Regions from separate parts of the Homo sapiens genome. Here all the other regions are linked to region 1. The links are contacts of gene promoters, found by promoter capture Hi-C in blood cells and fetal thymus (Javierre and others, 2016). All regions are on one chromosome and are shown on one strand. Each heading gives the region's core, a stretch centred on a gene start or on the middle of the fragment in contact. The rest is flanking DNA. Distances are from core to core; before and after follow the strand shown.

Evidence for each region. The method cuts DNA at HindIII sites, captures the fragments that hold promoters and counts their contacts. A CHiCAGO score of 5 or more calls a contact.
Region 2: a fragment that was not itself captured here is called in contact with the fragment with the promoter of TMPRSS13 in region 1 in 5 of 17 cell types (total CD8 T cells, naive B cells, total CD4 T cells and 2 more); the score reaches 5.6 in total CD8 T cells.
Region 3: a fragment that was not itself captured here is called in contact with the fragment with the promoter of TMPRSS13 in region 1 in 5 of 17 cell types (naive CD4 T cells, non-activated CD4 T cells, naive CD8 T cells and 2 more); the score reaches 6.8 in naive CD4 T cells.

Annotation. Positions count from the first base shown.
Region 1 is chr11:117,928,069-117,930,799 of GRCh38, forward strand. TMPRSS13 (transmembrane serine protease 13) reads right to left here and starts at 1,334. Exons shown (of 13, transcript NM_001077263.3): 1 at 1,219-1,334. The coding sequence starts at 1,239. The HindIII fragment of the contact is 10,649 bases long and covers 1-2,731 here.
Region 2 is chr11:118,090,037-118,092,767 of GRCh38, forward strand. All of the region lies in intron 1 of TMPRSS4 (transmembrane serine protease 4), which reads left to right. LOC105369517 (a long non-coding RNA gene) reads right to left here. Exons shown (of 4, transcript XR_007062904.1): 4 at 2,251-2,498. Among named protein-coding and RNA genes, the nearest start is that of SMIM35, 4.4 kb to the left of the region's middle. The HindIII fragment of the contact is 239 bases long and covers 1,268-1,506 here.
Region 3 is chr11:117,788,488-117,791,218 of GRCh38, forward strand. All of the region lies in intron 1 of DSCAML1 (DS cell adhesion molecule like 1), which reads right to left. Among named protein-coding and RNA genes, the nearest start is that of DSCAML1, 7.4 kb to the right of the region's middle. The HindIII fragment of the contact is 8,640 bases long and covers 1-2,731 here.

The sequences.
Region 1 (2,731 bases), core at 84-2,583:
AGCTCAGCCCTTCTCACTCTTGGGTTTAGGGACCATCTAGTTTAGGCTCCCAGCATATTGCCAAGGAGGATGCCCCATGGCTGTGACTAAGGGTTCACCTTCTGCATGCCCTTGTGTACCCCCCTTACTGCTCAACAGTAAGAGGCTCTGATAACCCCCCAAGGCCTAGGGCCAAGTGACTTTGGTGAGGTAGAGACATGAACGAAGGAGCCCAGAGCAGAGGGCAAGGGAGGCAGCCTGGGAAAGAAAAGTCAAGAGGGGGCTGGAAGAATGGTGGGAAAAAAATGATGGTAAAGTTTGCAGAAACACATTGGGGGTGCAGAATGGACCACAAGCCAACTATAAGCCAAAACATAGGATGAGCTGATCTTTCCCAAACCCAGTGCTAGCCCATTCTTCCCAGAGTCCCAGGCTCTACCATGTCGGTAAGGTACAGAGAATTTGGAGGGGGCAGAAAACAAGACCTAAAGGAGAAATGAGAGCACAAAAGGGATTTCCTGGAGGAAAAGAAAGTGGAGGCACAGCAGAACAAGATCTTTGGAAGCCTTCATGTGTGTATGACTGGCTTTCCCACAGAGGACAGGCCAGCTGCTTTCTCCTACCCCAAGAGCAGCAGAAGAAAGGAAGTTGAGTGGTAGCAGGACTTGTGGTTAAACATCAAGAAGCACTTCCCAAGCATGAAAGTTATTAAGTCCAAAAAGAAGTGACCAACGGAGGTTGAAACATCCCCTTGAAAATCTTGAATGCACCCAGAAAGTCACAGTTTTCTGGGAAGGTTTAGGAGTGTAGTGAGGGGTTTAGACAAGATGCCCCTGAATTGCAGTTAGAATGCTTTTGATTTTCCAACCAGCAAAAATGAGATTAAAGTAGATTAGCCTGGATTCCCAATCGGCAAAGTTGGTGCTGTAACACTATGGATGCCCGGCAGGAGTGCTCACAGACCACAGAGCAGGAAACCCACGACTCAGCCACATAGCCCTGGGGTGCTCACCAGCCAGACCCCAAATCCCAGCAGCTTCTCCTCCCAGGGGCTTTTTCTAGAACCACGTTAAAAGGAGACCAAGAGATCTTGATCGTAAGTAGCTTCAAACTAGAAGAGGCACAGCCAGTTTCCCCCAAACCTGAAACACAGAGGTAGCTGTCCCACCTGTCTCCCAGCCTCAGCCCTGCTTCCTCAGCGCTGGGAGAATCTGGCCCGAGGCCTGAGGTCACACTCACCCCGTGGCTGTCCCTCTCCATGGTCTCTGAGGGGAAGAGTCCTCCAGGCTTAGCTGATGTCGAGGAGAAGATCCATCTTGGTCCCTGGCTTCTCAGGCATGTAGGGTAAAGGAGTTGGAGGGCCAAGGGCCAGCCCCCACCAAATGGGGCGGGGAAGCCGGTTGGGACGTGTGAAGTAATCCCCAGTATAAACAACACAGAACTAGCCAGACCTGTTCCTCTGCCCCTCATCGAGGCCATCCCAGTTACTCAGCGAATACCAAATTCCAAATACCGGGAACCTGAAGCTGCCTTTACTCATGAAACTGCCCCCACAGAAGCAGAGGAGTGTTCTGAGCTACTTCTTCAGAGGGGCCCTGAGAGAAAGGGCAGAGCCTTGAGAGGATGGTCTTGGTCCTGTTGACCTGAGCCCCTGAAACAGATGCTCCAGAGCCTTCTGAGGGATGACCCTATCCCCACAGGGGACGTTCCAGGCCAGGGGCAGAGCCCCACCTATGGCAGGACAGTGGGAACCTTCATCTCCAAGGACCAGGTGTCCAAATCCCAAATCAGGGCACATGGTCTCTGGGCGCATGGTCTGGCAATTGCTTTCTCCTGAACTCTGTTTGTTTTTATGAAACTCTTAACAAAGAAATGAAAATCAAATGACCTTTAATTATGCACATCATGAATTGCCCTCTATTGAAAACAATAAAGTGCCAGAAGCAACACATCAAAGTCAATGAAATAAAACATAACTATCTGAATGGAAACTGTTCCAAGAAACATTGGGCTGACTCGTGATCCCAAACCTATACCCTATTCTGATCCTCAGAGTCAAAAGAAGTAAAGGAAGGGCTATTGCAAAAGGAGTCCTTAGCACCTCCGGCTAAGTTCCAGCTGAGCTGCTGCTGAGAACTGCAAAAAAAAAAAAAAGAAAAAGGAGTTCCTGTTGAGGTTTGGGAAGAACTTTCTTGAGCATTCAGAGGCACCAAGATTTTTAGAGTTTGAAAGAAGCTCATGGATCTTTAGTGGTTCACTCTTTTCATTTTACAGACTGCGAGACAGAGGGCCAGAGAGGCTAAGGAATGTGCTCAAGTCACACAGCAAACAACAGCAGCAGCAATAATCTTAAGATGCCAAGAATCCTGCGAAACACTTCACACGCATCCTTCACGTGTTCATTCAACAAATATGTATTGAGTGCCTGGCATTGCTTTAGGTGCTGGGGACACAGGAACAAAATAGGCAAAGCCTCCTGCCCTGTGGCTCTAGTATTTGCGGGTTGGGGGGAAAAAGCAGACAAAAATCAATAAATCAGTTACACAGCCTCCTAGAAAGTGAAAAGTGCCGTTCACAAAAACAAAGCAGCGAAAGGATCCAGAAGGTAGGGGAGGCAGAGTCCTGGCAGTTGGGAACAGGATGGTCAGAGAGGGCTCTCTGTGGTGACATATTTGAGCAAAAACTGAAAGGAAGTGACTACTATCGCCCCCCATTTACATTCAAGAAAACGGAAACTTCTAGCTCACAGTGG
Region 2 (2,731 bases), core at 137-2,636, 160 kb after region 1:
GTTTCACCATGTTGGCCAGGCTGGTCTCGAACTCCTGACGTCAGATCCACCCGCCTCAGCCTCCCAAAGTGCTGGGATTACAGGTGTAAGCCACCGTACCTGGCCCCATCCATATTATTTTGTGTCACTACAGTTCATTTGTTTTGACTGCAGCCTAATATGTCACTGTGTGAATATACCAGTCAGGTTCGTAAAGACTGAGCTGAGGCTGAGTCCTCAAACTGAGATATTTTCATTAATTCTTTCATTCAACAAATATTTTTTCAATACTCATTATGTACTGTGCATTGTAGGAGACATCAGGGATATCACAGTTAACAAGATAGTCACAGTCCCTGTCATTCTAGCTTACGGTTTTGCTTTAGTTTATTTTTTCTTTCTCTCTTTTGGTTTCAAACAGGGATAGAATTTTTTTCCACAACTACTACTCAGTGAATAGCAATTGAAAACATATTAAGAGCCAGGCATTGTGGCTCACACCTGTAATCCCAGAACTTTGGGAGGCTGCGGTGGGCAGATCATTTGAGTCCAGGAGTTCGAGACCAGCCTGGGCAATACAGTGATACCTCATCTCTACGAAAAAAAAAAAAAAATAGCTGGGCGTGATGGTGCATGCCTGTAGTCCCAGCTACTCAGGAGACTGAGGTGGGAGGAGCCCTTGAGCGCAGGAGGTGGAGGCTGCAGTGAGCTGAAATCACAACATTGCACTTCAGCCTGGGCGACAGAATGAGACTCTGTCTCTCTCTCTTTCTTTCTCTCTCACTCTGTCACACACACACACACAAACACACACACACACACACACACACACAAAATTAGCCACTGTTCAGTTCAGTGATGAGGAATCCAAGGCCCCAGAAAGTGCAGAATATAAGCCTCCTTTGTGCCTCAGCTTCTAGCACTATTCCGGGTCCATCAAAGTTGTATAGTCAATATTTGTTAAATTAACAATAAACAAAAGAAACTTGCCCTACCTACCTCAATGAATGCAGGCATGCATGCACAGGTAGACTCAGTGGAAAAGAATGAATTGACAGGAAAGGGCCCACTTCCCTGCTCCACCAACCACTCTTATAGCCTCCCACAGCTCAGCAAGCACCCTCTCACCCACGTAACTAAAACCCAAGCACACCCAATCCATCGGCGAGGCCTATTGTTTGTATCTTCCAAACACATTTGGCGTCTTTTTACCACCAACCTCCTCTCTCCTTATGCCCTTGCCTTGCTCCAGCCATGCCCATCTCTATTCAGTTCCTCCAACCCCCCAAGCTTGTTCCTTCCCACTTGGCTCCTTCTTGTCACCTCCTCTAGGGAGACCAGCAAGATCCTCCGTAACCATCCTGAGCCCCTCCCTAGAGCTCCCATTCTCAGTCTGCATCCAGGCGCTGTCTCCTCTCACCCTGGATTACTCCCTGCATAGCACCTACCCCTCTCTGATCTTTTCTGGTTTATCTGTTTATGGCCTGTCCTCCCCCTTCCCCTAGCCCTCCTCTCCACCAAGAAACAAGCTTCTTGGGGACAGACCCTCGGCTGTCTTCTTTGGGCACTATTTTCCCCATCTTGCTGGGATGATTTCTTGATCTGTCTTTGAATCCTCCTGGAGTAGTGCCTGGTACAATGTAGATGCTTTACAAGCATTTGTTTAGTTTAATAATTAATTCTTTAATGCTGCCCATCCTGGTTGGCAGACAATTGATATCGACTTGACTAGACAAGAGTTAGATGAAAGGACTTTGTAAACTGTTACATGCCAGTTGGGTGTGAATTACTGTTGACGTTATCCTAACTTGACTCTAGCTGCAACAATGCAGAGTCGTCCGATTGGGTCTCATCTTCAGCCTGGAAAGAGTCTGCTCTATCCAGCCCTGGTGATGGTGGAGGAGAGACGGCCGGGAATGAACTACAATGCAGAGCTCAAAGTTCAGTCCAGTTCACAGTCATTTATTAAGTTTTTACTAGGTACTAGCCTGGTGCTAAACAGCAAGGGTACAAAGGCAATGAGAAAGAGTGGCTAATTAAAAATAAAATGTTAAATTTAAAAAAGCAACCAAAAAGAAAGAAAAAAGGAAAGGAAACGCTGACCACCCTATGAGAGAAGCCCTGTGATAAACACCTGTACCAAATGCTACAGAAGTGCAGAGGATGGTGTAACCGCCCAAGGGGTTCACCTTGCCCGCTGCCTAGACAAAACCAATTCATCAAGACAGGGGAATTGAAATAGAGAAAGAGTAATTCACGCAGAGCCAGCTGTGTGGGAGACTGGAGTTTTATTAGTACTCAAATCAATCTCCCCAAGCATTCAGGGAGCAGAGTTTTTAAGGATAACTTGGTGGGTGGGGGGAAGCCAGTGAGCCAGGAATGCTGATTGGTCAGGGATGAAATCATATAGAGTTGGAGCTGTCTTCTTGCGCTCAGTCAGTTCCTGGGCGGGGGCCGCCAGATCAGATGAGGCAGTTTATTGATCTGGGTGGTGCCAGCTGATCCGTCAGGTGCAGGGTCTGCAAAATATCTCAAGCCCTGATCTTAGAAGCAGTTTGGGGAGGGTCAGAATCTTGTAACCTCCAGCTGCATGACTCCTAAACCATAATTTCTAATCTTGGGGCTAACGTTAGTCTAGTCCCCAGACAAGAAGGCAGTCTGCTCTGGGAAAGAGCTGTTACCAACTTTGTTTAAACTATAAACTAAGTTTCTCCCAAAGTTAGTTCTGCCTACCCCTAGGAATGAACAAGGA
Region 3 (2,731 bases), core at 173-2,672, 140 kb before region 1:
GGCTAATTTTTGTATTTTTAGTAGAGATGGGGTTTCGCCATGTTGGCCAAGCTGGTCTCGAACTCCTGACCTCAAGTGATCCGCCTGCCTCGGCCTCCCAAACTGCTGGGATTACAGGCATGAGCCACCATGCCCAGCCCCATCATTTCTTTGTAGCATTTGTTTTGTGCCAGGCATGGTGGGAAGCCTTTTTCTTGCATTATTGCACATGTAATTCTTACAACAGCCCTTGGATGTAGCTACTACTCAAGACTCCATTTTACAGATAAGAAGACAGGCTCTTAGGTCAAATAATTTCTTGGTGTTGCACAGTTCGCAGTGGCAGAGCTGCATTTCACATCTTTATGCCAGGATGTGTGGCTCAGCAGGCACATGACAGGCTAGATTCAGACCATCCCCATGGTGTGAGCACACTGTGGGGGGATTTTCTGACAAAAGAGATCAATTGGGGTATGATAATTCAGAATTACCTGGGAATCTCCCTGTCATTAGACATTCCATCCCTCCCCCAACTAAACGCCAGCAGCTCCCCACCCTAGTCATTGAGATGACCAAAAAACGCTCCCCATTTCCAATCCCCATGCAAAGCACAGCTCAAGTGTCCTCCCTGTGTCCATCAGAAACATGGGTGGTTTTGCTGTTTGTTTTTAAGATTCTTAGCACAAACATGGTTTCTGTGACCAGCAACCAGAAACCTGCGAGGTCCAGTGGAGACGCAGCTATCCTTCAACCTCCAAGGCCCTGTGCCATCAGCTCCAGGAGAAGTTATGAGCAACAGCTGACTGTCGGACAGACTCTTTAATCTTCCAGCCCTTTCTAGACAGGGCCTGTCAAAGGAAGGTCCCTTATGGCCAAAATTTCTTTCCAGGGAGTCAGCTCAGACAGCACAGTTGTCCCCAGAGAATCCTAGATTTAGATTGTTAATGCTTGAGGGACTTAAGAGATTATTTTTTCCAATCTCCTCCATTCACAAGGCCTAGAGAGGTGGAGTCATCTACCCCAGGGACACAGCTCACCAGCATCCCAGCTGGGGCTACAGTGCTGTCTCCAGTGTTCTCTCAGTTCTGGCCACCCTGCTGTCAGAAAACTAGCCATTGTGGAACTCAGGAGCACCATGAAGCACCGAAACGATGTCATTCGAGGGTGTATCAGAGCAACTAGGGATGCTGCGTGTCCAGAGCAGGGGCCTCAGATGGGCAGGACATCTGCCTATCACAGTCGCAGGGCTGTCAAGTGGAAGAGGGCTTTGCCTTGCTCTATGTGGTCCAAGCGGTGACATCAGGACCAGTGAGTAGAAGGTCCAAGACCACAACAGGGTTTGACTCATTCTAAGGATGAGCTCTGTAATAGTCAGAGCTGTGTGGCCAGGAATGGGCTGCCTTGCAAGGAAGGAGTCCCTGTTGCAGGAAGTGCTAGTGAAGACAGAAAAAGACACTGGGTGGGAAAGCTGCAGAGGGAGTCAGCCTCTGATTAGGGGACAGATTCCACAGCCTTAAAGATGCCTTCCAACCCTGCAAGACTTTTACCCAAGGTGATCACCTGAATCTCCCTCTCCCACCCCCAACGCAGGGGTCCTATCCTCTCTCATACCCCACGACTGCGGGAGGGTCACCCTAGTAGCAGGGTGTCCACCAGTCTCGACTCGGCAGAGTTTTCAGAGATTCCAGTGAATACTGTGACCTTAAATGAGGTCACATAAGATGGGACTGTGCCTACTGCTCTTCCCACAAAAGACTGTGGATTCCCTGCAGGGAGAATGTCCCTTTGGGGGAGTTGGTCCAGAGGACTATGGACTACACTTGCATCTAAGAACCTTGGAGGGGAATGGGAGGAGGGAGAAGAGGTAGGCTTCCTCCCACTCCCACTACCACTGGGGCCTCAAGGGATCTGCCAAGTTTGCTCCAGGAAGACTATTGCCAGCCTGGCTGTGCCTCATCAGCTGTTCCCCATGATGCTGAAAAGCAAAGCTAGGAAAATTCTCCATATGTTGGGGCCCACGGAGGGGGAGACAGCCACAAACAGCTGTGAGACCTTCATCGTTCCTGTATGATGAAATGACAGTAATTATGCCTCACATTTCAGCAGAGCATTTATAAGGCTAAAACGGGTTTGCTGTGGTTTTTACATGTGTGTGTTCATATGTTGCCTCATTCTGTATACAAAGCACTGTCACATGATGTACATTTTTATGCCTCTTATTCTTATTTATGCACATATACAGTAACAACTGCTCTGTAGGATAGCCAGGACGGGGGTAATTTTGCCCATTTTACAGATTACGAAATAAAGGCACATGAACCATTAGGCAACTTGCCCAGGTAAGACAGGCTGAGCTTTGTTTTTTAGGTCCATGGATAATGTTCTTTCCAACACACAGACACACATACACACATGCACGTGCAAACACACATGCATCTCTTTAGAATCAGTTTAATGGATATGCAACTAACTAGCATTTGAATAATTGTTGTTAATGAAGATGGTGACCTTGGAAACTGTTAGTGCAAGCATCATGTAGAGACAGGGCACAGGGAGTGGGGCAGGGCAGCTGAACGAATGAGGGGAGTAGCAGCTGGAGTGGCATGGGTGGTCCCCAAGGCTAATGCTGTTCACTCTAAAGCAGCACAGGACAAACATCTGTTTAACAAGGCACACAGGCTGTGGAGCCCACAGCCTCCCCAACATGTAGGATCCCACAGGCCATGGCCTGCCATAGGCAGCACTTGACCTC